Regions from separate parts of the Homo sapiens genome. Here regions 1, 2 and 4 are each linked to region 3. Evidence: promoter capture Hi-C in 16 types of primary human blood cells and fetal thymus (Javierre and others, 2016). All regions are on one chromosome and are shown on one strand. The core of a region is centred on a gene start or on the middle of the fragment in contact, and the rest is flanking DNA. Distances in the headings are between cores, read along the strand shown. Region 1 overlaps NHEJ1 (non-homologous end joining factor 1). Region 2 overlaps RETREG2 (reticulophagy regulator family member 2). Region 3 holds the start of CFAP65-AS1 (CFAP65 antisense RNA 1). Region 4 holds the start of ATG9A (autophagy related 9A).

Region 1 (6,303 bases), core at 1-2,500, 140 kb before region 3:
AAGAACATTTATTTTTCGGTATTTTTTCTGGTACCTAATACTGAATTGGAAAGTACTTTATAAGAGTCTTTTGGCTAATTGATATCTCTTCCCTCAAAGGTCTCCCAACATTTGATTCGTCCTCTGATGGGCATGAGTCTGGCATTACAGTGCCAAGTGAGGGAGCTAGCAACGTTACTTCATATGAAAGACCTAGAGATCCAAGACTACCAGGAGAGTGGGGCTACGCTGATTCGAGGTAAGAGGACATTCTTGGAGGAGTTGGGTGGGGCGTGTTAAAAATAGTCAAAGGGTCTTAGCAAAGAGGGAGACTCATTTGCATTAGAGAAGTGCCTCCCCCAGGATGGGTGCTGAATACTAACCAGAAACTGGAGTCTTGATATTAGGTGACTCTTTTTTGTTTGTTTGTTTTGGAGACGGAGTCTCGCTCTGTCAGCTAGGCTGGAGTGTAGTGGTATGATCTCAGCTCACTGCAACTTCCGCCTCGTGGGCTCAAGCGAGTCTCCTGCCTCAGCCTCCCGAGTAGCTGGGATTGTAGACGCACGCCACCATGCCTGGCTAATTTTTTTGTATTTTTAATATAGACGGGGTTTCACCATGTTGGTCAGGCTGGTCTCGAACTCCTGACCTCAAGTGATCTGCCTGCCTTGGCCTCCCAAAGTGCTGGGATTACAGGCGTGAGCCACCGTGCCTGGCCTAGGTGACACTTTTCTCTGCCTCGAGTACCTGGCTGGAGCCCAAGTGGCCAATAGAAGCTGTAACCGAGTCCAGACATGCCCTAGGCAATGGCAGGGAAAGACTTTGGAAAGGAGCCAATAGCTATACAGAATTGTACCAGAGCAACATGGACTTGGGAGTTTAGGAAGCTTCATGGCTCCAACTTCAGAATAAAAATTCAATTTGGCCTTTGTTTTTGTGGCAGGAAAAACTCCTAGAGCAGATGCTGCCACCAAACCTGCCATTTATTGCTAATCACCCTCTCCCACTACTTTTTGCCCACATGCTCTCAGCCCTTCTTCTCCCACTGAACTAGGTGTCTCTGCATGATGCACCTTCCTCCTCTTTCCTAAGTAGCCCTGTTCTGTTCCCTTTCCATCAGGTAAGAAACTCATCCTGTATGACTCATATTTCTTTTTTCTGATCCTTCTTATTACAGATCGATTGAAGACAGAACCATTTGAAGAAAATTCCTTCTTGGAACAATTTATGATAGAGGTAAGGTATTTGTCATTTTCTTGTGTGTCTTTGCCCTACTTCCTCTTTCCAGGTGCCTGAGTGGCCATTTGTGTTTTGGGTGTTAGGTGGCTTGTGTGGTTGGAATGCCCTTTGTCTGAAAAAGTTGCCCATAGAAAGTCTGATAAGGCTTGAGATGTACTTAGGGAAGATGAGGGAAAAAACGGGGAAAGAACGTAAGAGGCGGAAGTGGACTGATTGATATTTATAAAACATCTCTGTTAAAGTACCAGGGATTTCATTTGGAATTCTCTAACCTTGGAAAGGTTGGTTGACCAGTTATTAAATTTTTGCTTGTTGAGATCTGGTCGTAAGGTCTGGACTGTGGAGGAGAAGGGTAGGCGTCATTACTTGTCTAGGCCCTTTCAGGATCCTGCAGGAGAGGAAGGTAAAAAGCTTAGGGCTACCATTTGGGGGCTGTCTTGTGGGCACAGTAGGTTGTGGAAAATCACAGTGTTTATACAAGGGGACTGGCAAAGGAATGAATGGGGAGTAGATAATTGTGGCCTGTCAGAAGCTCCTGCCTAGGTTTCCCTTCTAAGGATTGAGCTCAGCCAAAAGAAACATCTATTAAATGCCAAATAGGGAAAGTATTAATAATAGTGACCTTTGATAATGCCAGTCAATATTGATCTTCTCCTTCCCTCCCTCTTCTGTGACTTGTTGGTTGTACAGTTAGTACCTTAGTATTATTGCCCCATTTTCTTTTTTTTTTTTTTATTTTTTTTTGAGATGGAGTTTCACTCTTGTTGTCCAGGCTGGAGTGCAATGGTGCGATCTCGGCTCACAGCAACCTCCGCCTCCCGGGTTCAAGCGATTATCCTGCCTCAACCTCCTGAGTAGCTGGGATTACAGGCATGTGCCACCACACCCAGCTAATTTTGTATTTTTAGTAGAGATGGGATTTCTCCATGTTGGTCAGGCTGGTCTGGAACTCCCGACCTCAGGTGACCACCCACCTCGGCCTCCCAAAGTGCTGGGATTACAAGTGTGAGCCACTGCGCCCGGCCTATTGCCCCATTTTCTAATTATATATGTTACCCAAGTTGGTACTTTATCATGTAAGTAAATAATGCTATTATAATCTGGTATTATGTATAGATTATTTGTATTTCTTTATTGTCTTCTAGATTAATTTGTAAGCTCTTTGTGGACAGGGTCTGTGTCCCGTACCTCTTTTGAACCCTAAATTAGCACTTTTTAAAGGGCTAGGCATAAAGCAGGTATTCTTTATTTGGAACCTCCTGTTCTGCCTCTGTGCATTGACTGAGCTACAATGCTTGGGGTCTAAACACTAAAAGCAAAAAATGTGAGGTAGGTGCTCAGTCCAGGTACTGAAGCAATTGTAAGTCTGAAGAAGAAGGAAAACTTGTATTGCTAAGTCCTGAAAGAGAAAAGGTTTCAAGTCTTTTTGTTGTTGTTGTTGTTGTTGTTGTTGTTTTTGAAACGAAGCCTCACTTGCTCTGTCACCCAGACTGGAGTGCCATGGCACAATCTTGGCTCACTGCAACATCCCTTTCCCAGGTTCAAGCAATTCTCCTGCCTCAGCCTTCCAAGTAGCTGGGATTACAGGTGCGCACCACCACACCCAGCTAATTTTTGTATTTTTAGTAGAAACGGGGTTTCGCCATGTTGATCAGGCTGGTCTTGAACTCCTGGCCTCAAGTGATCCACCCTCCTTGACCTCCCAAAGTACTGGGATTATAGATGTGAGCCACCATGCCTAGCCTAGAAAAGGTTTCAAGTTTTTATGGGTAAAGAGAGACCGTTAAACCTAAACTTGTGACTAAGAGAGATTTCTTAGGCCGTTTTTCTCTTAGATAGCTTCCCCTGTCTATAAGTTTAGGTATCAAGGCTGGGGATAACATGCTGGTTCCCTGCCTCATCCCCTTAGTTAAACAATGCAAGGCTTGTTCTTAGCTCAGTAGAGAGGTCTCTTCCTGATCTAGTGCCTGCATACCTCTCCAGCTTGACTTCTTGACATTTTTCTCTGTGTACTTTATGCCTTAGCTATATGGAATGACTTTTAATTTGCCCCAATGCTGTTTCATCTTGTCTTTAGATACACATTCTTCCCATGATCTAGAATGTCCAATGTTCTGGCCTTATCTAACTTGCAAACTTCTATTAATCTTCTAGATGTCAGCTTCACCTTGTTTGGGAGACCGTTCTGTACTCTGCTTGTAAAGACTATTCTTCTTCCCTGCTACTATAGTACCTTGGATTATACCTCTGTTTTACCACTTATAACATTGTAATATTACTGTTTGTATGCCTGCAAGACTATGGCTTTCTCCTCCACTGATCTGTGGACTCTTTGAGGCAAGGACCATGCTGAATGCATTTCTATATCCCCAGCACTGTGCGTGGTGCCTACAGGTAGTAAGTCTTCAATAAGTTTGGATTAATATTTTGATAAGTCTATGCTAGGGGGATTTTATACAGATTATGACACTGTGGCCTGTGGATACAGTGTTGCTTTTTTTTGGCTGGAGTGCAGTGGGGTGATCTCGGCTCACTGTAATCTCTGCCTCCCGGGTTCAAGAGATTCTTGTGCCTCAGCCTCCTGAGTAGCTGGGATTACAGGTATGCACCACCACACCTGGCTAATTTTTGTAGTTTTAGTAGAGACAGGGTTTTACCATGTTGGCCAGGCTGGTTTTGAATGCCTGGCCTCATGTGGTCCGCCCACCTTGGCCTTTCAAAGTGCTGAGATTACAGGCGTGAGCCACTGCACCTGGCTCAGTGTTGCTTATTAGACCTATATTTGGGGTCTTCAGTTATTCTCATGGCTCATTTTGCAGCTTTGGATAAATCACTTCTCATTTATAAAATTAGAGGCTCATCGTTTTCATACTATGGGGTTGGGAGGAGCCCTGCGGAATTGAATGAGAAAGCATACAGAATTTAGGTGGCAGCACAGGAAGAGTATCAGTGTTTTGGAACCAGCTACTTCAAGAATACTGGTCCTGTAGGTTCTGGGTGGATCAACCTCATAGACTTGTAGAATTTTATTATATCTGGAAAGGAAGTGAGAGATAGGTAGTTGTAGTTACAGCTTTCTATTTTATAGATGAAGAAGTTGAGCCTCAGAGAGGTTAAGTGACTTGCCTAAGGTCATATAGCTGTAGCTTTATGTTTAGGACTTCTCACATTTCTTGACACATAGTCTAGGATTATCCCTGTTTTGTTTTGCTAGTTTAACTGGTTGTACACACCTGTTAGGGGAGACATAAGGGCTGGGGTAATATGGAATTCTTGTGACCTCTGGGGTCATTGCACTGTCCTCAGAATGTCCTGTATAGCTGCTGGAACTGAAAGGTTTCCTACTGGGGCTGTAGAACTTCTTATGACTACTGCATCTTTTTAGTTACTCTGCTTGCCCGGGGTCCTACAAACAGGACACAGAAGGGTCATGGGGTCACCCAAGACTGAACTGAAAGGATGTGCCATCAAAATAAGCAAGATGGAATAGGAAGATAAACAAACCAGGGAGAGAGCTCAAGATGAAGGCGCAGGGGGGCCAGGGCTGGTGTCAGAGGGCCATGCGGTCATTGCCTGGGGTCAGTTTTTAAAATTCTCATTGGGATTATTACTAGGCAAGAGGCTATAGACAATAAGGCACAGGGGACAGTAGGCCAGGCAGGTGGCTAGGATACTAAGGCTCGGGAAAATAAGAATTGAACAGGGGTTACTTCTCCCTATTTGGTCCTTTTGTTTTTCCACTCTGTCTAAGAGCCTCTGATTTCTCAATTCTGGGGAACCCAAGGAGCCAGTTGATAGTGGCCTAACTAGAGGGTGATACTGACAATATTGACTCAAGTCAAGCCTGGGTGGGATGCCTGTTGGCATGATCTTCATGGAGGCCAAGAACCCTATATAGGGCATTTTGTAGGACTGGGGGTTGAGAGGCATCTTTAGGAGTGAAAGAAGAGTCAGGGACTTAGGGACTGTTGTTACACGGCAGTAGGAACTATATGAAAAAGGAAGTTTAGGATGACTGGGCAGAGCCCACTCTCAGTCTAGTCCACTGGAGGGAGTTCCTTCCCCTGGCCCTGTCCATGCCTCGCTCTCTCCATCTGGTTGCCATCAGGCTGTGTGGCTGCTGGCGGGCTCTTTATTTATTTATCCCAGTGTAATGGGGTGAGGAGGGAGCTGGCCTAAGGCTGGCATTCCAAGGCCATGCCACTGAGCCACAGGCAGTTTGCATGGGTGTGTGAGTCACTGGGGCTGCATGCTGCTCAAACCAGACGCGGCCAGGCTCAGGGACAGCAGGCAGCCCAAAATAGAGCCCCGCCCTCTACAGCTGGCAACCCCTGGCTAGGAATCAGCCCTTGACACCAAAACCTGGGCAGTTGCTTGAAGTTGGCTTCCTTTGGTAGGGGTCCCTTAGCAGAGATGGAGATTTTGCAATTCTCTACTCTTCTCTCCTCTTCTCTTCTCTTCTCTTCCCTGCAGTCGTTCTTACTGCTGCATTCTGAATGCCTTATAAGTCTTAATCTGTTCAGTATAATACCTTAGCTAAGAAATTAGGGGGCTATAGTTAACATTGATTTGACTTAGCATCCTAAGTGCAGCCATGGTTGTTATATTCTGCCTAGTTTTAGTTACTGTCTTCAGCTCCTGTCTGGTTGCAGCCTGATTCTAGAGCAGATACTTTAAACTATGAAGAGAGTCACTGCTGCTCTTACGAAGCTAGAGCTTATATCGCCTGGGGAAGATGGGCAATGCTTTAACTTGAAAATTGCCATCTTGTTAAGCTTGTTCACACTTCTAATTGGTTTCTTTGGCTGGCTCTCCGTCTTCTGCCTGCCTCTTAAAGGTTAGTGTTTCCCAGGATCAGGTCCCTGATCCTCTGAGACTTCACTTTCCTTCCTCTGGGTCATCTCATCTAGACCCCAGTGTCAACTATTGTTGGTACATCGCTGAATACCAATTTTATATCTCCACTGTGTTTTAGGCCCATATTTCTTTCTGCATGTTTGGCATTTCCACCTGGATGTCCCACATAAAGCACATCCTAAACATGTCCAAAATGAATTATCTACTCCCCCAGACTATTTCTCTTAT
Region 2 (6,068 bases), core at 1,173-3,672, 180 kb before region 3:
AGACAGAGTCTTGCTTCTTCGCCTGGGCTGGAGTGCAATGGTATGATCTAGGCTCACTGCAACCTCCACTTTCCTGGTTCAAGCAATTCTCCTGCCTCAGCCTCCCAAGTAGCTGGGATTACAGGCACGTGCCAGCACACCCGGATTATTTTTGTATTTTTAGTAGAGACGGGGTTTCACCATCTTGGCCAGGCTAGTCTCGAAATCCTGACCTCAAGTGATCCGCCCACCTTGGCCTCCCAAAGTGCTGGGATTCAGGTGTGAGCCACTGCATCCAGCCTCCACTCACCTCTTAAAGGCCCATCTGTCAATATTGCCACATTAGGGATTAAATTTCAACTGAGTTTTGAAGGGGACAAATATTCAAATCATAGCAGTACCCATGGGACATTCAAGTGGAGATGCCTAGTTGGGAGTTCTGGGAAAGGAAATGAACTAAGATTTAGAAGGCATCCGCATCTGAGTGGGAACTATATGGGTGAATATATGAAATCGTCCATGATGAGTGAGCAGAGGGCAAAGACAAGTGAGCCACTGACACCCAACAAAATACCAACATTTTTAGGTTGTGGGGTGAGGGGCAGAGTTTCGCTCTGTCACCCAGGCTGGAGTGCAGTGGTGCAATCTCGGCTCACTGCAACCTCCGCCTCCCGGGTTCAAGCAATTATCCTGCCTCAGCCTCCCCAGTAGCTGGGATTACAGGCATGCGCCACCACACCCGGATAATTTTTGTACTTTAGTAGAGATGGGGTTTCACCATGTAGGCCAGGCTGGTCTCAAACTCCTGACCTTGTGATCCGCCTGCCTCGGCCTCCCAAAGTGCCGGGATTACAGGCGTCAGCCACCGCACCCGGTCCAAAATACCAACTTTTAAGGGAGCAGACAGAGGAAGAGAAGTCCAAGCTGACTTTAGTTGGACATTAAAAGCAAAACATGGTGATAATATTGTCCTTCCATGTTGGAATTATTCTTAGAATTACCGCCCTTGATCATTATACTTTTGCAGATCATTTAAATCTGCTTTGCAATATTCCCTTGACTAGAAAATTAAATTCTACCTAGCACTATTATCAACCAAACTCAACTCGTATCTGCCCTCTGAAGTCCTGCAGACAAACCTTTGAAGTTTGAAGCCAGCTGATGTGAACCAACTCAGCTCTCTTCTTGGATTAGAGATTCCCAGTTCCTCCAACAGTTTGTCCTATGATGATTTTCAGCCTTCATTTCTAGCAGTCATCTCCTGGACATACTACAATTTGCCCACAAGCCTAGCAAGCCATCCTCTGGAAGTATTAGGATATTCGTGCACAGGACACTAGAATTATCACATTTCTTGTTTTGGAGACTACACTTTTATTAATGCAGCCTAAAATTAAGTTTATAAGCAGCAACATTAAACTATTAGCTGTTTGAATACATAGCTAAAATGTACTCCCTCCTCCCCTAACATAAACATGTAGCCAACTCTTCTCCCCTCAGCCTGTACTTTTCCAGTTGATTTTTGTTTAGCCTAATTGTAGGTTTCACATTTCTGCTTTTTTCTTTTACTCATATGAAAACCTCTGGCCCTTTCATCGTGGGGCATGAACCGGCCAAGACACCTGATAATAGAAAAAAAAAATCATAGACAAACATGTAGCAACCATCAGACCATGGTGAATGTAAAGAATAGACCCTCATGAGGCTGGGCGCCGTGGCTCACACCTGTAATCCCAGCACTTTGGGAGGCCGAGGTGGGTGAATCACCTGAGGTCAGGAGTTCGAGACCAGCCTGGCCAACATGGTGAAACCCCACCTCTACTAAAAATACAAAAAATAGCCAGGCATCGTGGCATGCACCTGTAATCCCAGCTACTTGGACGGCTGAGGCAGGAGAATTGTTTGAACCTGGGAGGCAGAGGTTGCAGTGAACCAAGACTGCACCATTGCACTCCAGCCTGGGCAACAGAACAAGACTCCGTCTCAAAAAAAAAAAAAAAAAAACCCACAAAAAACAAAAAACCAAAACAACAACAACAAAAGAATAGACCCTCATGAAACTCCAGGCCTATGGAGAATATTTTGATCCAGCTACAAGCTTCTGGTTCTATTGTCAATGTCCAAGCTTAATAAGAAAATAGATTAAAGATAGGACATGTTGCAGTCATTGCCTGATTAATTCTATTTTTCTTGAATTGCTTGCTTATTGATTAGAACTGTTTTTCCATTCCCCTCTGAAATCTCTAAGTGATGAAAAGTTCGAGTTCCTTTAGTGGCACAGGACAGGGGCTCAATCAAACCCTAGAATGATTCTCAGTCAAATGTGAAGCAAACAGAAAAATTCTTACACACTTAGGAAAGACATGGCATAAAAGTCAACCTCAGAAAGACAGGCAGCATTACCATATGGTACCTCCAGCAGACAGCCAGGCAGCATTACCATATGGTACCTCCAGCAGAAAGACAGGTAGCATCGCCATATGGTACCTCCAGCTGAAGGCGGAGGACATGAACTCATAAAGGAGGCCATCTGCTCAGTTCTGGGCTTTTCTTCCCCAAAGAGGAAGGCTTGCCATGTCCACTCTTTGTTAAGCCAAGGCATCAGATTGGTTCTCTATAGTTCCCACATCCTTGTGCATCTTCCTACCTGTGCCCTATTAATGGACAGGGGCTGTCTGATGCATTTGCTGAAGCCAAAACTTCTTGGGTTTGGGTTCTGGCTCCACAATTTACTGGGACCTGTGGCCTTCAGGAAGCTTAACCTGTCTATAAAATGAAGTTAGTAACAGTATATATCTGACCTGTGAGGAAAAATCTTAATACATATAAATCACTCAGAGCAGAGCCAAGCACATACAATGGACTCAGTAACTGTTAAGATACTATTTCTTCAGTGTTCCTTGGCTCCAACTCATTTCTAACACAGGTAAAGGTCCTCTATTGCTTGTTTGGCTTCCCCAGTAAAGATAAATCCAGGCTGAGTGAGTTGTTAGCATGTAGATGGGTGAAGACTTCTTAAGAAAGCAGTGTTAAGGTTGTAGGCCACATGGTAAAACACAATTTTTATGGTCCCGAATTTCTACCGATTGGGAAGACAAAGCAATTTCCTCCTGCATATACTTTATTCACACATGCTAAATCTCACTAAACAGATCACACTGTCAAGGAAGATGGCTAAGGAGAAGCTAGGGTTGTCAAGGTAATCCTTGCTTCGGCCCTGTTTTGCAACAAGGTAATAAACAGCCAGAACAGACTGGAGTGAAGCAGGTTAAGGGTGAGGAGAGAACACAGTGCAGTGCAGGGTGTGGAAGGCAGCTCACAGTCAGGGAGGCAGCAGTTCTAGCCAATCAACACTTTATTTTTCAAGTCAACACCTGCACAGATGTTAGTGTCCACTTCCTGACCCTAGTAGGGGGTCCCACTACACTTGGATCACCCAGAGGAGCAGTAAGGAAGCTCCTAATCTCAAGAGAGAGCACATGCTCACCAACTCCAGTGCTGGCGCCATGTACTGCGGGATCCCTGCTCTCCTGCATCATGAAAGGCCGGGCTGAATGGGGCAAGGATGCAGTGAAGGTTACACAGACTACAGTGACCTAAGAGTGTAACTACTGGCCTGACCCACTGCCCCAGGTTTACTCTTTACTTCCCAGACCAGGAGCCTCCCTAAAGCTTGGCCAGTGCCCACGGGATAGGAGGAGCTGGCAAAGGATGGGGTTGAGCTGCTAAGGACAGGACACAGCAGGGAAATAAAGCAGAAAGGAACACAAGACAAGAGAAAAATTATAAAGTGCCTCAACTAAACAACCAAGTGGGACATGAGGGCAGAGCAGCACAGGTCCCTGAGGATAGGAGGAAAAAGAAAGGGCCAGACCACCAGGGCTTGGGGCATAGTGGAATGAGAATAGAGATGAGGCAGGGAGGCAAGCGCAGGCTGTGGGAAGGACTTCCCTAGCCCTGTTCACATCCACTAACCCAAATGGAAAATTATTTACAAATTTAAAACCAATCCTAGGCACAGGTACTGCACCATGCCCAGGACAGCAGGCAGGCAGGCAGGCAGAGGGTGGAATAGCTACCATCCGACAGCCAGCTTCCCCACACACTGCCCCACCCCAGAGTGGTAGGCAAAGGAGGAAACAGCAACACTCCTAGCCAGGAAGCCCTACTGTGCCTGCAGCTCCTTCCTCAACGGCTGGCTCATGGCTCTGCCACGGCCTGAGCTTCTTGGTCTGACTGTACCAGAGAATGGATGTCGGGCCCCAGGGGTGGAGCATCAGGGGGTTTTGGCGGTGTCTCTGGCTCCAAGCCCAGCTCTGCATTCAGCTGCTCCAGCTCCCCCTGATCCAGCAACTCAAAGTCCTCAGTGGTGAGTGCCTCTTCTTCCTCAGGGGCAGGCAGGGGCTGGGGTGAGTCCTGGGGAACAGGTGGGAGAATGGAAGGGGAGGGGGCTGGGTCACTTCCAACAAGGCAAAGTGGAGGTGACAGGGTGCCGGGCAGAGCAGTGAGGCCACCACTCACTGTCTCGGGGCTCAGTGTCTCCACTGGTCCTCCAGGGGAGCATTTCACTCCATCTGGGGGGGACCCTGCCCCATTGAAGTGCGTGTTCACAAAGTGGAGGGGGGATGAGAGCCGCAACAAGGTTTCCTTAGCTGCCACATCCTCTTCCTCTTCCTCCGAGTCCAGGGCTTGCCTTGACAGAGCTTGAGGACGGCCTAGTAGGTCTTCGGGAGGGGCCAGCTCTCCCTCCTCTCCCTCCCCTAGGTCCCGGCTTAGGGTCTCCTCTGGTTCACTTGGCAGGCTCTGCTGGTCCAAATCTGTGCAGAGAACAAAGAATTAAGAATGGGCCTGCTGCTGGTCTGATTAGCCACAACAGACAATGAGTTCAAGGATGAGAACTCAAGACATGGAAAGCTGGGCCAAGCCTTAGGTGTTAAGGTCTTTTAGGAGCTGAGAGAATTAGAGAGTGAGTGGGCCAGAGAGCACAGTAAGTACCCATGGTAGGGAACACAAAGATTGTGGCGGGGAGCAGGGCAGCAAAGGGCTCCCCATACCCTCGGAGACATCAGTCAGCTGCGGAGTTGTGGCCCGGGATACGGAGAAGCCACCACTCTCCAAGATAGAAGCCTCCTCATCTGACAGCTCTGAGTCTGTAATGGCCAAGGCCAATGCTGTTTTCTTCACATCCACCTGGCAGGAGAACCAGGATGAACACGACATGTGAGGGGATAAGAGAACCAATTTATCAGGAGCATCCCCTCTCCCAAAACCTCTGGCTTCCACCTCCTTTGGAGGTGGCAGCTCCAAAGCAGAAAGATTTTTCCTCTGGCTTTCTATTTGACACCCCCGCTTTCCCTGGACCTCACCACTGGGGAGAAGCCAGCCAGCTCTGCCTCGCTTTCACTCTCTGTCTCTGCCAGTGGCTCATCACCTCCTGGGGGTGCATTCTTCCCCTGACGCTCTAGAAAAGCAAGAGTAGTAGAGCAATGACCAAGCATGAATGATGGGAGGGGAGACAAACACAGCTAAAGAACTGGAGAAGATCTCAATTCCAGGGCATCTCATGAACCCCAAGCCAAGGCCCTCCCGCTCTTTCACCCTCCTGGCTTAGGGCAGCCCCTTACTCCTCTTGTCGTGTTTGTGATGCAGGGCATTGGCTTCTGCCTTCATGCTGTAGTCCAGCTGCATGAGCAGGGGCTCCAGGCGAGTGTACATCCTCTGGATCAGCTCATGATAAACCACCAGGGGCCACAGCAGGATACTCAACACTATGGGTTAAGAACGTGAACTAAGAGCTCCCTACGCCAATTTCCTAAGAGCCCCCATTCAACTGGTCCCTAAACTGAAGTGCTGAAGGTAGGCAAGGTCCTTTCCCAAGGCTGTGCCAACCTCTTCTTGCCACATCCACTGCCCTCCTCCCCAGGTAAGTCTTCCACAGTTACTAATACTAAAGCATCCCTGGAGATCTCCACAAATCAGAAACTGAGCAGAGAGAGCATAGTCTTCCCTCTGGGTCAGTCCAAGGAAAGAAGAAAGGAGAGGGCTTTAAATAGGGCAGGGACAGACCCTACTCACAGACAATGTAGGAA
Region 3 (5,870 bases), core at 2,310-4,809:
TTTTCCAACTGGGAGTCTCTCTAGCTCCCGTGCTAACTCTGAGGGTTTGAGCTTGGTTCTCTGAACCCAGTAGCACTACATTTGGGTTAAGGCTGGGAGTGCCTCAAACTCATCTGTGTCCTCATCACTGGGCAGCTACCACCACTGCTTGTGCCCCCAACCCCAGCATGGTGGCTTGCCCAGGCCACTCAGAATGTCATGGCTGCCACAGGGAGCTGCCAAAGAGGAAGGCCCCCAGGGAAGAGTCAGAGACTTCTGAGGAAAAATCCCCTAACAAGTGGGGCCCTGTTTCCAAGCAGAAGAAGCAGCTCCTGGTTGACATTCTCACCACAATAATCAGGTACCAGCTCACACCCTGGGCCCTCATTGCCACCTTCGCATCCCTCCAGCTCATTCAGCCAGAGCCCCTTACATTCCAGCACTCTTCCTTTCTTGAGAAATAGAACTTGGTGGGGCATGGAGGTTCTTGCCTGTAATTCCAACACTTTGGGAGGCAGCAGTGGGCGGGTGGCTTGAGCCCAGGAGTTTGAGACCAGCGTGGGCAACATAGCAAGACCCCATCTCTACAAAAAATACAAAAATTAGCTGGACATGGTGGTGCATGCCTGCAGTCCCAGTTACTTTGGAGGCTGAGGTGCGAGGATTGCTTGAGACCATTAATTAGCTTAATTAACTGAGAGGTTGAGGCTGCTGTGAGCCATGATCACACCACTGTACTCCAGCCTGGGAGACAGAGCTTTTTTTCAAAAAAAGAAAAGAAAAGAGAAAGAAAGAAAGAGACAAAGACAGAAAGAGAGAAAGAAAGAAAGAGAGAGAAAGAAAGAAAGAAAGAAAGAAAAAAGAGGAGAGAAAGAGAGAGAAAGAAAGAGAGAAATAGAGAGAGAGAGAAAAGAAAAAAAGAAACAGAACTTCTTTGCAAGATCCCACCACGGTCCCCCCCCCCGGCCCCCCCACCCCAGGACAGTGGGGCTCTGATGGAGCTGGCTGGAGGGATTCTCAGGTCTGGATCCTGAGTTCTGCCCCATTCCAGGGCTGGCAGATGAGTCTGGAGCCAGTCCACTATCTCCCCAGGGTTCCTGCCCATCATGTGTGTGAATCTGACCTGCCCTGCCTCCAGCATACCATGTTCGCTTCTAAAAATCCATGAGGCTCAAAGATGTCTTCCTTGAAAGAAGGGACAGGAGGAACAACTGACCAAGGGCTCCCCTCTCCCCACCTAGCAGCCCCTTTCCCACCTAGAACCTAGCTCTGAAGCCAGGGCTCCCCAGGGGCTTCAGGGCCCCTCAGCAAGGGCCTTCTCCTTCTCCCTGCCACCTAGGGGCCTGCTGGAAGACAAGAACTTCCATGAGGCTGTGGACCAAAGCCTGGTGGAGCAGGTGCCGTACTTCCGCCAATTCTGGAATGAGCAGTCAACTAAGTTCATGGACCAGAAAAACAGCCTGTACTTAATGCCAATCCTGCCTGTACCCTCCAGCAGCTGGGAGGATGGGAAGGGCAAGCAGCCGAAGGAAGACAGACCAGAGCACTATCCAGGGTTGGGAAAGAAGGAAGAGGGGGAGGAGGAGAAGGGTGAAGAGGAAGAAGAAGAGTTGGAGGAGGAAGAGGAGGAAGAAGAGGAGACAGAAGAGGAGGAGTTGGGCAAGGAGGAGATAGAGGAGAAGGAGGAGGAGAGGGATGAGAAGGAAGAGAAAGTGAGCTGGGCGGGCATCGGGCCCACACCACAGCCTGAGTCCCAGGAGTCCATGCAATGGCAGTGGCAACAGCAGCTGAATGTCATGGTGAAGGAGGAGCAAGAACAGGACGAGAAGGAGGCCATCAGAAGGTGAGCAGCCAGGCCCCAGTGAGGACGGGAGGGAGGCGAAGTGCAGAAGGTTCCTAGGAGGCAGTGGGATGCCAAGGATGGCTGCTGCCTGTATGCACATCTCATCCTAATTCAGTGCTTAGTGAGGTCATGTTGGTAGCTTAAGGCCTCTGTGGGAGTATCCGCCCGGCACCAACACTGAACTTTATTCTTTTTTCTCTAAGAACTAGTTGTTGACATTTACCAACTTACCAGGAGAATTGTTATAGTCTGCAAAGTCTTGTAAATGGGCTTCTAGAGCCAGAAAAGGACCACCTGTCTTGCAGGTGGGACTTCCCGCCGGGGCTGCCCTACAGATGATTTATGTCATTGTAGGGATTCCCTAGGCCCCACCCAGTCCCTTCTGCGCCCTCTCATCACTTCCCTACCTTTCTCTAAACTTGGCCCTGAGATGCCTACTACATCGCCTGGGTTTGAATCCCACCCCTTAAACCAGCAGCATATTTGGCAACTTGGAATCTTTTAGCCACACTTGGAACGTCCGTAACATTGAAACAAGAATGCCCCATAGTGTAGTGGATGAGGGGAGTCGAATGGGAATCTCCGTAGAGCTCGCGGCACAATGTACCGCACGGACAGGCGAGCGAGGAGGCGCGCGGGCACTGCGGCCGCCCTCATGCTAGCCCCCGCCCCCTCGCAGGCTCCCGGCCTTCGCCAACCTGCAGGAGGCGCTGCTGGAGAACATGATCCAGAACATCCTGGTGGAGGCGAGCCGCGGGGAGGTGGTACTCACCTCGCGGCCACGCGTCATCGCCCTGCCGCCGTTCTGCGTGCCCAGGTAAGGGCGCCGGGACCAGCGGCCGCGCAGACCGCGCGAGAGGGGCCACGGGGGCAGCCAGGCTCTGCCCGAAGCCTCGCCCCCACGCCTACCTGGGACTTTTTGTCTTCCAGGAGTCTGACCCCGGACACGCTGCTGCCGACGCAGCAAGCAGAGGTACTCCACCCGGTGGTGCCACTTCCTACCGACCTTCCGTAAATGCCCGCGCCCAGCCTCTCCGACATGCCGCTAGGGGTCACGCCTGGCCCCCTCTCCACCGCCAGTAAAAGCATCTAGTCTTTTTTCTGTATCTACCTTGACTTTATTTCCCCGACGAGGGGGAACGCGCGCGCGAGCTCTGAGAGGGAAGGATGGCAGGGAGCAGCCCGGGCGGACTGCAGAGGCGCGGCGGGAACTTAGGGCCCGGGAGGATGCACCTCTCCGCCCACACTGCAGCTGGACTGAGACCTGGCCGCTAGCTGCCGGCCGCTGGACCGGGTCTGGCCAGTGGAGGGCGCTCCGGACGGGGCCTGGCTGGCCTTTGCCCCAGCGCACCTTGGTGCACAGTAACTGAGTGCCAGGCCTGGCCAGCGAAGCAGGTGTCCACTGGGCAGGGCGGCCACCCCTCACCTTTCCGCGCCGCGCCTGCTCGGAGGCTTAGCACCCCCAGGGCCAGCCCCTTAGCATTTGCCGAGCTCCGAGTGCCCAAGAGGCTGGGGAGGAAGAACTGAGGCACGCCGCGGAGGGCCAGGAACTAGGCTGGGGCGGGTCGAGGTCACCACTGGATTTCGGGCCACAGACCCTGCTAAGCGACTCCCACTGTGAATCAGTCCTCAGACGAGGATGGATACCCACCTCTCGGTTCCTCCTAACCCCCGCCCGGGAGCTTCTGTCCTCTGCTTCTCGGCTCCTCCCTCCCAGAGGCAGGTGGGTGGAAAAGTGACATCTGGTGTTGTTCCAGAGGCGCCCAGGGTCCCCAGCACCCTCCCCTCCGCCCCCGCCACCAAGGCCTCGGAGAAGCTCCGGTCTCAGAGCCCGGGCGGGGGAGGGGGGAGCGCTCCGCCTCCATGAGTCAATATTTGCCCCGAGCAAACGGGCGCCTGGACAGGTGTGAGTGTGTGTGTCTGGGGGCGGGGACTGAACAGGCAGTATAAGAGCACACGGAGCCCGGGCTCCGGGACAAGCTCCAAGGCGTGGGCTGGGGACGAAGCCAAGCTAGGCTGGGCCGGGCGGAGGGGCCAGGAAAGCCGGGCGGAGGGTGGCTGGGAAAGGAGGGGCGGGCCAGGTGCGCACCTGCGGTGGCCGCCGCGGCCGCCGACGTGTCAGCCGCAGATGCGTTCAGGTGAGGGCGGAGGCTAGCGGGGCGCTGTGCAGCACTGAGCTCGCGGAAGACCAGGACCAGGAGATCACCGAGGGCGACCGCCAGGCCCCGGGCCCTCCGCTCCCGCCCCGCGACGAGCCCCTCGCACAAACCGGACCTGAGCGTTTTGTTCGTTCGGCTCGCGTGAGGCAGGGGCGGCCTCTCAGCACCAGCCCGGGGGCCGGCCTGATCGCCACGCAGGCACCTGCCGCCGCCACCGCCACCGCCATCTCAACCGTACGGGTGGGAGAGGCTGTGCGCCGCTCCAGGGGAGATCCGGCTCCCATCCGGCCCCACCCGCCCTGCCTTGCCCTGCCCGCAGCTTCTGGGCTGCCAGGCTCCATTCTGCGTCGTAATACGGGCTGAGCCGGCTCCAGCGGGTGGCGAAGGGGGCCGTGGCCCAGAACAGAAACCCTTCTGGAGGTGGAAACCCGGATTCTAGTCCGCCTCTGTCCCCGCGACTTCTATGGCCTTGGGCAAGTCATTTCCCGGCCTCTTGGTTTTCCCATTTGCTCAGTGAACGGTTGGTCTGGCCTCCCGCAGGGGCTAGGCCCTCCCCAGCCTCCTGTCCCGGTTCCTGGGCTCCTGGTCATGCTGGGGAAGATGCAGGCCCTCACGGAGTTGGAGCCAAGGCTGAGGTGTGGAAAATCTGGGCGGGGGAAGCTGAGGGCCACCATGGAGCCTCAAATCCACTCCTCGGATCTCTGTGGTGCTGCTGACATCCTGAGATGTCACTCCCTGACACTCCCTTGGTCCCTCTTTCAGTCTAAAAACGTCTGAGACAGTCAGACTGACTGAAAAGGACAAGCCCCCAGGCACAGCGGTTCACCACCTTCCTCAAACCTCAGAATCCCACATCCTCGCTTCCATCAGCTGGGGTGGGGTAGGTAGGTGGCCCTCAGCTCAGGCAGAGGCAGCCCCGGGAGATGGGAACCAGGGTCAGAAGTCCCTCCAAACTGCATGTTCCTAGAGGTGCTGGATTGTCCCCTCCACCACCACCCGCTCTAGTGCCCCTATGTCACCCAACTACCCAGAGGCCCCAAAGGATCTGCTGAGCCCGAGTCCGTGGCACAGAGAGAGAAGGGGGAGGGGCGAGATGGCGTTGGACAGATCCCAGGCAGGTTTAGGGAGAGGGTGGACTACAGCAGGGCTCTTCGTGGAGCAGCCCCAGGGGCAGGGGAAGGTCCTTGGGTCCTGGGCTAGGGTGTGTGCAGCCCTCTCCTGGCCCCCCTGACCAGGCTCTGTCCTGGGCCAGCCCTTTACTCTGCCTGGCACTGAAAGATTTGCCTGTCAGGGGCCTGGCATGGTCCTGGTGCACCTTCCCTGTGTCTTTGAGGGCTTCCCCTTCCCTCCCCAACCATGTCAGGGGCCAGGATTCCACATCCTGGGTTTGCACAACAAAGAGATCTCTGCTTGGAATGACCCCCTCCCAAACACACACACACACACACACACACACACACACACAGCCTTGAGGGGAGGGTGGTGAGAAGGAGGCAGCCACCCAGTGGGCGGGGATCTTTCCTGGTGACTGAGAATTACTGCCCCTTCACCCCAGGGCCTAATTTCCCCAGTCCCCCACCCACTATCCATCCTAAGACTGCAGTTGCTGGCCATTACCAGGGATCTGGCCTCTCATCCAGGTCCCTCCTCCGCTGCTCCGCTGCCACAGGGCGGGGTCTCCCAGTGCCGGGCAGGCCTGCAGGTGCGGGGCTGCATGGGGAGGGGGGCACTCAGCAGCTGCTGTACGAGGCAGGCCCCCTCCCCCTCCTGCTCAAAGCTGGAGCCTGCTTCCTGTCGTCCCTGTCAGCACCCTGGGTGGGGGAGGGACCAGGTAGTGGGGGAAGTGGAAAAGGGATTGAGCGGTTGGAGTGCAGCAGCTGAGAAACAGC
Region 4 (6,070 bases), core at 1,571-4,070, 230 kb before region 3:
TACCCCATTTTTGTTCTTTCCTCAAACTCTAAACTAGTGCTTTCTTATACCTCCATGTCCTACTCCTACATAGGTCCCCCTACCACTCATCACCTGTGGAGCTCTGCTTTTCAAAGTCCAGGGCAGACAGGAGAGGCTTGTCCTTGAGACGTTGCTTTAGGTTAAACCGATGCCAGTCAAGCTTATAATGTTCCCTCTAGTACAAAGACAAAGAGTGAGATAAAGGTGGAAATATGCCCCAGCCTGGCCTTGTACTGGCCAAGACCAGTTATAGTATTCTAGGAAGTACAACCAGGTAACACCAACTGCCTCAGTCAAAGCATGGACCTTTATTAAGACAAATCAAATGTCTACCTCTCCCCACCCACCATTACACTTTTGCTTCTAACATCTAGCTCTGCACCTGACCTATTACCTGTTCTTGGTGGTTCTGGAAGGTCTGGTCACAAGTTGAACAAAATAACTTCTCTGAAATATCCATAGGACCCTGGAGTAGCTTTCTTTCTGGGCTTTCTCTCTCCCCTGAGCCTAAATAAGGGAAGAGGAATTGGACATAGAAAGGGAGCCCAAATCCACAGTGACAAGAATTATATTCAGAGTGTGATATACAAAGCAGAGGAGGATACAAAAGAGATGGCATGATACTGCCTTCAAGGAATTTACACTCTAATAGTCATGAAATAAACAGTACAGCAATCACTTAATGCAATAAACATGCTTCTGAAAACATGTACGTAAAATGAATGTAAATAAAATAAAATTGGCCAGGTGCAGCGGCTCACGCTTGTAATCCCAGCACTTTGGGAGGCCAAGGCAGACGGATCATGAAGTCAGGAGATCAAGACCATCCTGGCTAACACGGTGAAACCCCGTCTCTACTAAAAATACAAAAAATTAACCGGGTGTGGTGGCGGATGCCTGTAGTCCCAGCTACTTGGGAGGCTGAGGCAGGAGAACGGCATGAACCGGGGAGGCGGAGCTTGCAGTGAGCCGAGATCACACCACTGCACTCCAGCCTGGGCAACAGAACGAGACTCTGTCTCAAAAAAGATGAAGAAAAATAAAATAAATAAAACGAATGTAAATAAAAACTGGCCCTGGGCATTCTGGAAAAGAATCCGATGAGGGTAAAAGCCTTGGGGTCGGTTAAACTTCTCCAACGTAGCCCTCTCCCGAGATCCAGCGTCTGCAAGTCCTCCCCACTGGCTGAGTTTGAGTCTTGTCTAATTTAAATTAGCCAAACAGATTGTTTAGGTGAATCCTAAAGAAAATAATTTCTGTTCAGTTTAAAATTATTTTTCACTGCACAAAAACTACTTCCCAAATGCTTTTTAAAGTTTACATTTCCAATTAGTGTACAGTTTGTCTAAGGAGAGGTGCAAGAAAAGATGTAGCCAAACTAAAGTTACACAAAACAGGACCGACACGGTGGCTCATGCCTGTAATCTCAGCACTTTGGGAGGCTGACCCAGGCGGATCACTTGAGGCCAGGAGTTTGAGACCAGCCTGGCCAACATGGTGAAACCCCGTCTCTACTAAAAATACAATAATTAGCCGGGCATGGTGGTGCGGGCCTGTAGTCCCAGCTACTCGGGAGGCTGAGGCAGGAGAATCACTTGAACCCGGGAGACGGAGATTGCAGTGGGTGGAGATCGTGCCACTGCACTTTAGCCTGGGCGACAGAGCGAGACTCTCAAAAAATAAAGCTATACGAAACAAATAATAAATTGTTTCATATTCAGCAAAAAGGAATAATTTGAGTGGGGCCTGGTTAAATGTGGAATACATCTGAGAATTTTATCTCTACAAAGTTTAAAGTGTTTTTGAAGGGAATGGTGTTAACGTGAGGAGATACATGCAATGGCAAAAAGACTTGTTTGAAAACAAGGGCTGTGCTGGACATTACCCAGAGATTAAGTGAATTTAATCAAGCAGAAAGATAAATCAATTGGCCTCCTAAGCTCGGGAATACCAATAAGAATGTGTTCCCTGAACGGGCAATACGCTGTAAGGAGCCCTGTCACGTTTCACACGAAACCTTCCAGGATACCTGAACAGGAAGTACGCGGAGCCCGGGCCAGAGCCTCCCCAGGCGCGTGGCTCACCAGGCTCAGGCCCTGAAAGACCGGAGCATCCGCGCTGAGGTCAAACAGGGAGATCGACGCAGGAGCCGGGGCTGCATCTGGAGCCGGCGACATGGCTGAGCAGAAATTATTTAGCAGCAGCTCCTGGAGTAGAAAGCGTGTAAGAAACAGGGCTCCTGCAAACGAGATCCTACTGCTGCGTCTCCTGCCTGCCTGACTTGGTTTCTCCTGCACCGCAAGACTTCTCGTCTCTCATCCTGCTACCAACTGTGAGATGAATACCTTGGCCCCCGTCCACTTTCTCAAACCCCCAGTCTCAGCCCACAAAAGAATGAAATAGGCATTCGGCTCCCAAATCGAGTCCAACAGAGTTAAAAATCACTGAGCTTGCCTAGCCGAACTTTCTTCGTTACCCATGCGACCAGCAACAACTGGCCCGCGTAAACTCGCCCACGCCCTTAGAAGACGCACCAAACGTCCCGGGAGCTGAGCGGCTCGCAAGTCCTCAGGTCGATTGCCGGATTTCTGCAACACAACAATCCCCGTCACTACGGAGCAGCGAAGAGGACAACCGGCGGCGTCCGCACCTGAGCCCCGCCCCACGTAGAGCACACTATTGGGCCGCTGACTGTCCAAGACCCGCCTCGAGACTTTAGTCCCGTCCCTGAAGCCGAGAATTGGCCGTTGTGTCTCCGCCCCCCGTGCTTATTGGCCAGCCTGGCTGCGGGTGACAGTGAGTGGCAGACACCCGGCCTAGCGCCGCGGGTCGCGCCGAGCCGAGCCGAGCCGAGCGGAGCCGGCGGAGCCTCTGGAATCACCCGGGTCGCTGTTCCTGAGGTAAGACGTGAGACCGGTTATTGGAATCCCAGGCCCCGTGTCTGGCCTTGCCCAGGGGTGCCTGCGGAGCCCTAAGTGAGCTCGCGGCGGGTAACGGAGGAAGGGGCGCCGCCGGCGGGGCGGGGGCGCGCAGCCGGAATGTTTTGATTGCTGGCGCGCGCAGACGGGGGCGCGCGCGGGCGCCGGGGCCGCGCGCGAGGTTGTCCGCTGTTGGGAGCTGCCAGCCCTTGGCCTGGGGCCGGGCGACCCTGGGGCGAGGTGGACTCCGGTCCACGGTCGCCGCGGCTGGGTGTGGGGAGGCAAGCCAACCCACCCGGGCTATCAGCTGTAAGGCTGACTCGATCCCTGCAACATCCGCAGGAACCCCTGAGCCCAGGCCCAGCCGGCCGGGGCTCCACGGGCCCTGGTCCACACTGACCCTGTGAGTGGTGACTTCCCTGAGGGGCAGGGCTCTCACTAGCCCAGGGAATCCCACCGGGGCCAGGCTGGGCCAAGATCCACGGCCCCCAGGGGCTGCACGGACAGGTGAGTACCACCTCGACCATGCCTGGCTTACAGGACCTAGGGAACCCACAAATTCACCTAGGATCGGGGGTCTACACTGACCCAGTCAAGGTTTCCCATCCAGAAGGTTTGCTCACCGGCTGGATCTTTGGTGCTAGGGAAGTAAGAGAAGGGGTTGACCAGAAAGGTCCTCTTCAGGAAAGACTCTTGAGGTTTTGTGGACCCTGAGAAGTATGTCATTTCTGAGGCTAAGGTAGGGCAATGGAGAAATAGTCCAGAGGCGCCCCTGGCCTCAGGTCTGTACCCACTCATTCTCCATGGGGTCCCTAAGTTACTTCTTGAGACCCTGGAGTTGGAAGAGTGGCCCGGTTTAGCACAGCCAGAGGAAGTGCTCGTAGTCCTGGGCTGGAAGGGTGCTTCTTCCCCACTGCAGCCTTCCTGCCCCATGCTTGGCCTCCTCTTGGTGGGGTGTGGATGGCTGGGAGGGTTGGGTTCCTTTTTATCCCCACTGCCCACTCTCTGGGGCCTGACATCTTCTCCTCCAGCAGCTGCAGAGCATCGAGGGCTGGAGAGGAGCACATACTGTCCATGGAGCTGGTAGGGCCATGTGCTTTTCTCAAACATTTGTTTGTGAAGTGCTTCCAAACTGTTAGTCTCTTGGGAGACCAGGGTTCCCAGGATGGGCGGGGGAGGGACTCTTCTGTCCGTTAAATAGAAGATGAAACAGCCCCCAACAAAGGGACAGATTCTGGCTTTGGGCCAGGAAAGCAGCAGTAGACACCCAGACTGGCCAGAGTTAAGGCTCCCCCAGCCCTGAGCTTACTGCCTTTCTTGTGTCACTACTCCTCTGCCTCTGAGCCAAGGAGGCTGGTAGTGGACAAAGCCCAAGGGTACTTTCTCCTTTTGGCAGTAGGCAGGGCAGCCCATGGGCAGCAGCTGGAACTGAATCAGGGTCTCTTCTTCCTCCTTATTGGCAGGTGGTCAAGGTGGACAGGGGGCGGTGGTGATGGCGCAGTTTGACACTGAATACCAGCGCCTAGAGGCCTCCTATAGTGATTCACCCCCAGGGGAGGAGGACCTGTTGGTGCACGTCGCCGAGGGGAGCAAGTGTGAGTTCTTGGATATGACAGCCATAGGGAGAGTTGATGGAAGAACATGGAGAGAGCAAGGGGCTTGTGTTCTCCCAGGGCTCTGACATCTCTGTTCCTATCCCACAGCACCTTGGCACCATATTGAAAACCTTGACCTCTTCTTCTCTCGAATATCCTTTGTGTTTCTGAGTTGGAGCTCTGGGACCTTTAATGTCTCTCTAAGCCGGGGCTCTGGTGGGAGGTGGGGGTAGGTTTGACTCTAATACCTGGAAACGGGAATGGAGCTCATCCTGAGGCTGAAAGAGGCTGGTGAAATCATCGTTAAGTAATGATAGCCCACATTTACCAAGATCTGTGTGCCTGTGTCCACTTTGTGGTGTTAATTTGTAGAAGCCTTTCTAAGGGTGAGCCTCCTTTTTTTTTTGTTTGAGATGGAGTCTGTCTCTGTTGCTGCTAGAGTCCAGGGGCGATCTCAACACACTGCAACCTCCACCTCCTGGGTTCAAGAGATTCTCCTGCCTCAGTCTCCCACGTAGCTGGGATTACAGGCACCTGCCACGATGCCCAGCTATTTTTTGTATTTTTCATAGAGACAGGGTTTCACCATGTGGCAAGGCTGGTCTCGAACTCCTGACCTCAAGTGATCCACCTGCCTTGCCCTCCCAAAGTGTTAGGATTACAGGCGTGAGCCACCACACCCAGCCGAGCCTCCTTTTTGATGGGATGTAAATAATCGTAATAAGTAACGTCTTTTGACTCATTCTGTGTCAGCTCTGTGTTAAATGCTTTACATGCATTATCTTAGACCTAATACTCCTATGAGACAAGTGTTATTTATTCCTAATGTACCACCATGGACAGACAAAAGTTTAGACAGGTTAAGTAACTTGGTAAAGTCACACAGCTAGAAAGTCACAGAGCCAGGACTTAAGCTTGAGTGTGTTGACACCAAAGTCTGTGCTCTTACCTGCTTTCTTTACTGACTACTTTTTCTTAACAATTACACGTTTATAATCTGCACCAGAAGAATGGCTTCACATGTATGCTCATCGGGGAGATCTTTGAGCTCATGTAAGTATAAGAAGGGACAGATGATGTGGTGAAAGAATACATCTTAGTCTTTCCTCTCCTTGCACTCACACTTGGCCCAACCTGCCAGTACAACTCAGTCCTAGGCTAAAACTCCGTAAACCTTTGTAGTTCAGGGACTGGGTGTGGCACCAAAACTTACAGCTTCACCTTTCTTTTTTTTTGAGATGGAGTGAGTCTCACTCTGTCGCCCAGGCAGGAGTGCAGTGGTCTTGGCTCGGTGCAACCTCTGCCTCCCAGGTTCAAGTGATTCTCCTGCCTCAGCCTCCTTAGTAGCTGGGACTACAGGCATGTGCCACCATGCCCGGCTAATTTTTTTTGTATTTTTAGTAGAGATGGGATTTCACCAAGTTGGCCAGGCTGGTCTCGAACTCCTGACCTCGGGTTATCTGCCCGCCTCAACCTCCCGAAGTGCCGGGATTATAGGCATGAGCCACCACGCCCGGCCAAGCTTTCTTACAAGAA

Evidence for each region. Contacts are between HindIII fragments. The CHiCAGO score rates a contact against its expected background, and 5 or more counts as called.
Region 1: a contact is called between a fragment that was not itself captured here and the fragment with the promoter of CFAP65-AS1 in region 3, in 12 of 17 cell types (M2 macrophages, endothelial precursors, M0 macrophages and 9 more). The highest score is 12.3, in M2 macrophages.
Region 2: a contact is called between a fragment that was not itself captured here and the fragment with the promoter of CFAP65-AS1 in region 3, in 1 of 17 cell types (M1 macrophages). The highest score is 5.4, in M1 macrophages.
Region 4: a contact is called between the fragment with the promoter of ATG9A here and the fragment with the promoter of CFAP65-AS1 in region 3, in 3 of 17 cell types (naive CD4 T cells, total CD4 T cells and naive CD8 T cells). The highest score is 6.0, in naive CD4 T cells.

Annotation. Positions count from the first base shown.
Region 1 is chr2:219,141,592-219,147,894 of GRCh38, reverse strand. It overlaps NHEJ1 (non-homologous end joining factor 1), which reads left to right. Exons shown (of 8, transcript NM_024782.3): 4 at 100-238; 5 at 1,157-1,215. Among named protein-coding and RNA genes, the nearest start is that of NHEJ1, 16 kb to the left of the region's middle. The HindIII fragment of the contact is 763 bases long and covers 869-1,631 here.
Region 2 is chr2:219,180,741-219,186,808 of GRCh38, reverse strand. It overlaps RETREG2 (reticulophagy regulator family member 2), which reads right to left. Exons shown (of 9, transcript NM_024293.6): 5 at 6,055-6,068; 6 at 5,604-5,747; 7 at 5,346-5,440; 8 at 5,034-5,169; 9 at 1,334-4,796. The coding sequence ends at 4,180. Among named protein-coding and RNA genes, the nearest start is that of RETREG2, 5.5 kb to the right of the region's middle. The HindIII fragment of the contact is 631 bases long and covers 2,107-2,737 here.
Region 3 is chr2:218,999,904-219,005,773 of GRCh38, reverse strand. It overlaps CFAP65-AS1 (CFAP65 antisense RNA 1), which reads right to left and starts at 3,559. Exons shown (of 3, transcript NR_046086.1): 1 at 3,474-3,559. CFAP65 (cilia and flagella associated protein 65) reads left to right here. Exons shown (of 35, transcript NM_194302.4): 32 at 212-340; 33 at 1,319-1,822; 34 at 2,502-2,639; 35 at 2,753-2,928. The coding sequence ends at 2,837. MIR375 (microRNA 375) reads left to right here and starts at 4,066; the gene lies at 4,066-4,129. RefSeq lists enhancers at 3,493-3,787, 5,230-5,870. The HindIII fragment of the contact is 13,795 bases long and covers 1-5,870 here.
Region 4 is chr2:219,226,386-219,232,455 of GRCh38, reverse strand. It overlaps ATG9A (autophagy related 9A), which reads left to right and starts at 2,820. Exons shown (of 16, transcript NM_001077198.3): 1 at 2,820-2,921; 2 at 3,971-4,022; 3 at 4,403-4,534; 4 at 4,643-4,686; 5 at 5,523-5,587. The coding sequence starts at 4,432. It overlaps ANKZF1 (ankyrin repeat and zinc finger peptidyl tRNA hydrolase 1), which reads right to left and starts at 2,650. Exons shown (of 14, transcript NM_018089.3): 1 at 2,556-2,650; 2 at 2,051-2,228; 3 at 416-528; 4 at 94-196. The coding sequence starts at 2,198. RefSeq lists enhancers at 2,456-2,565, 2,236-2,783, 2,784-3,331, 3,332-3,880 and silencers at 2,716-2,845, 3,056-3,105. The HindIII fragment of the contact is 5,267 bases long and covers 184-5,450 here.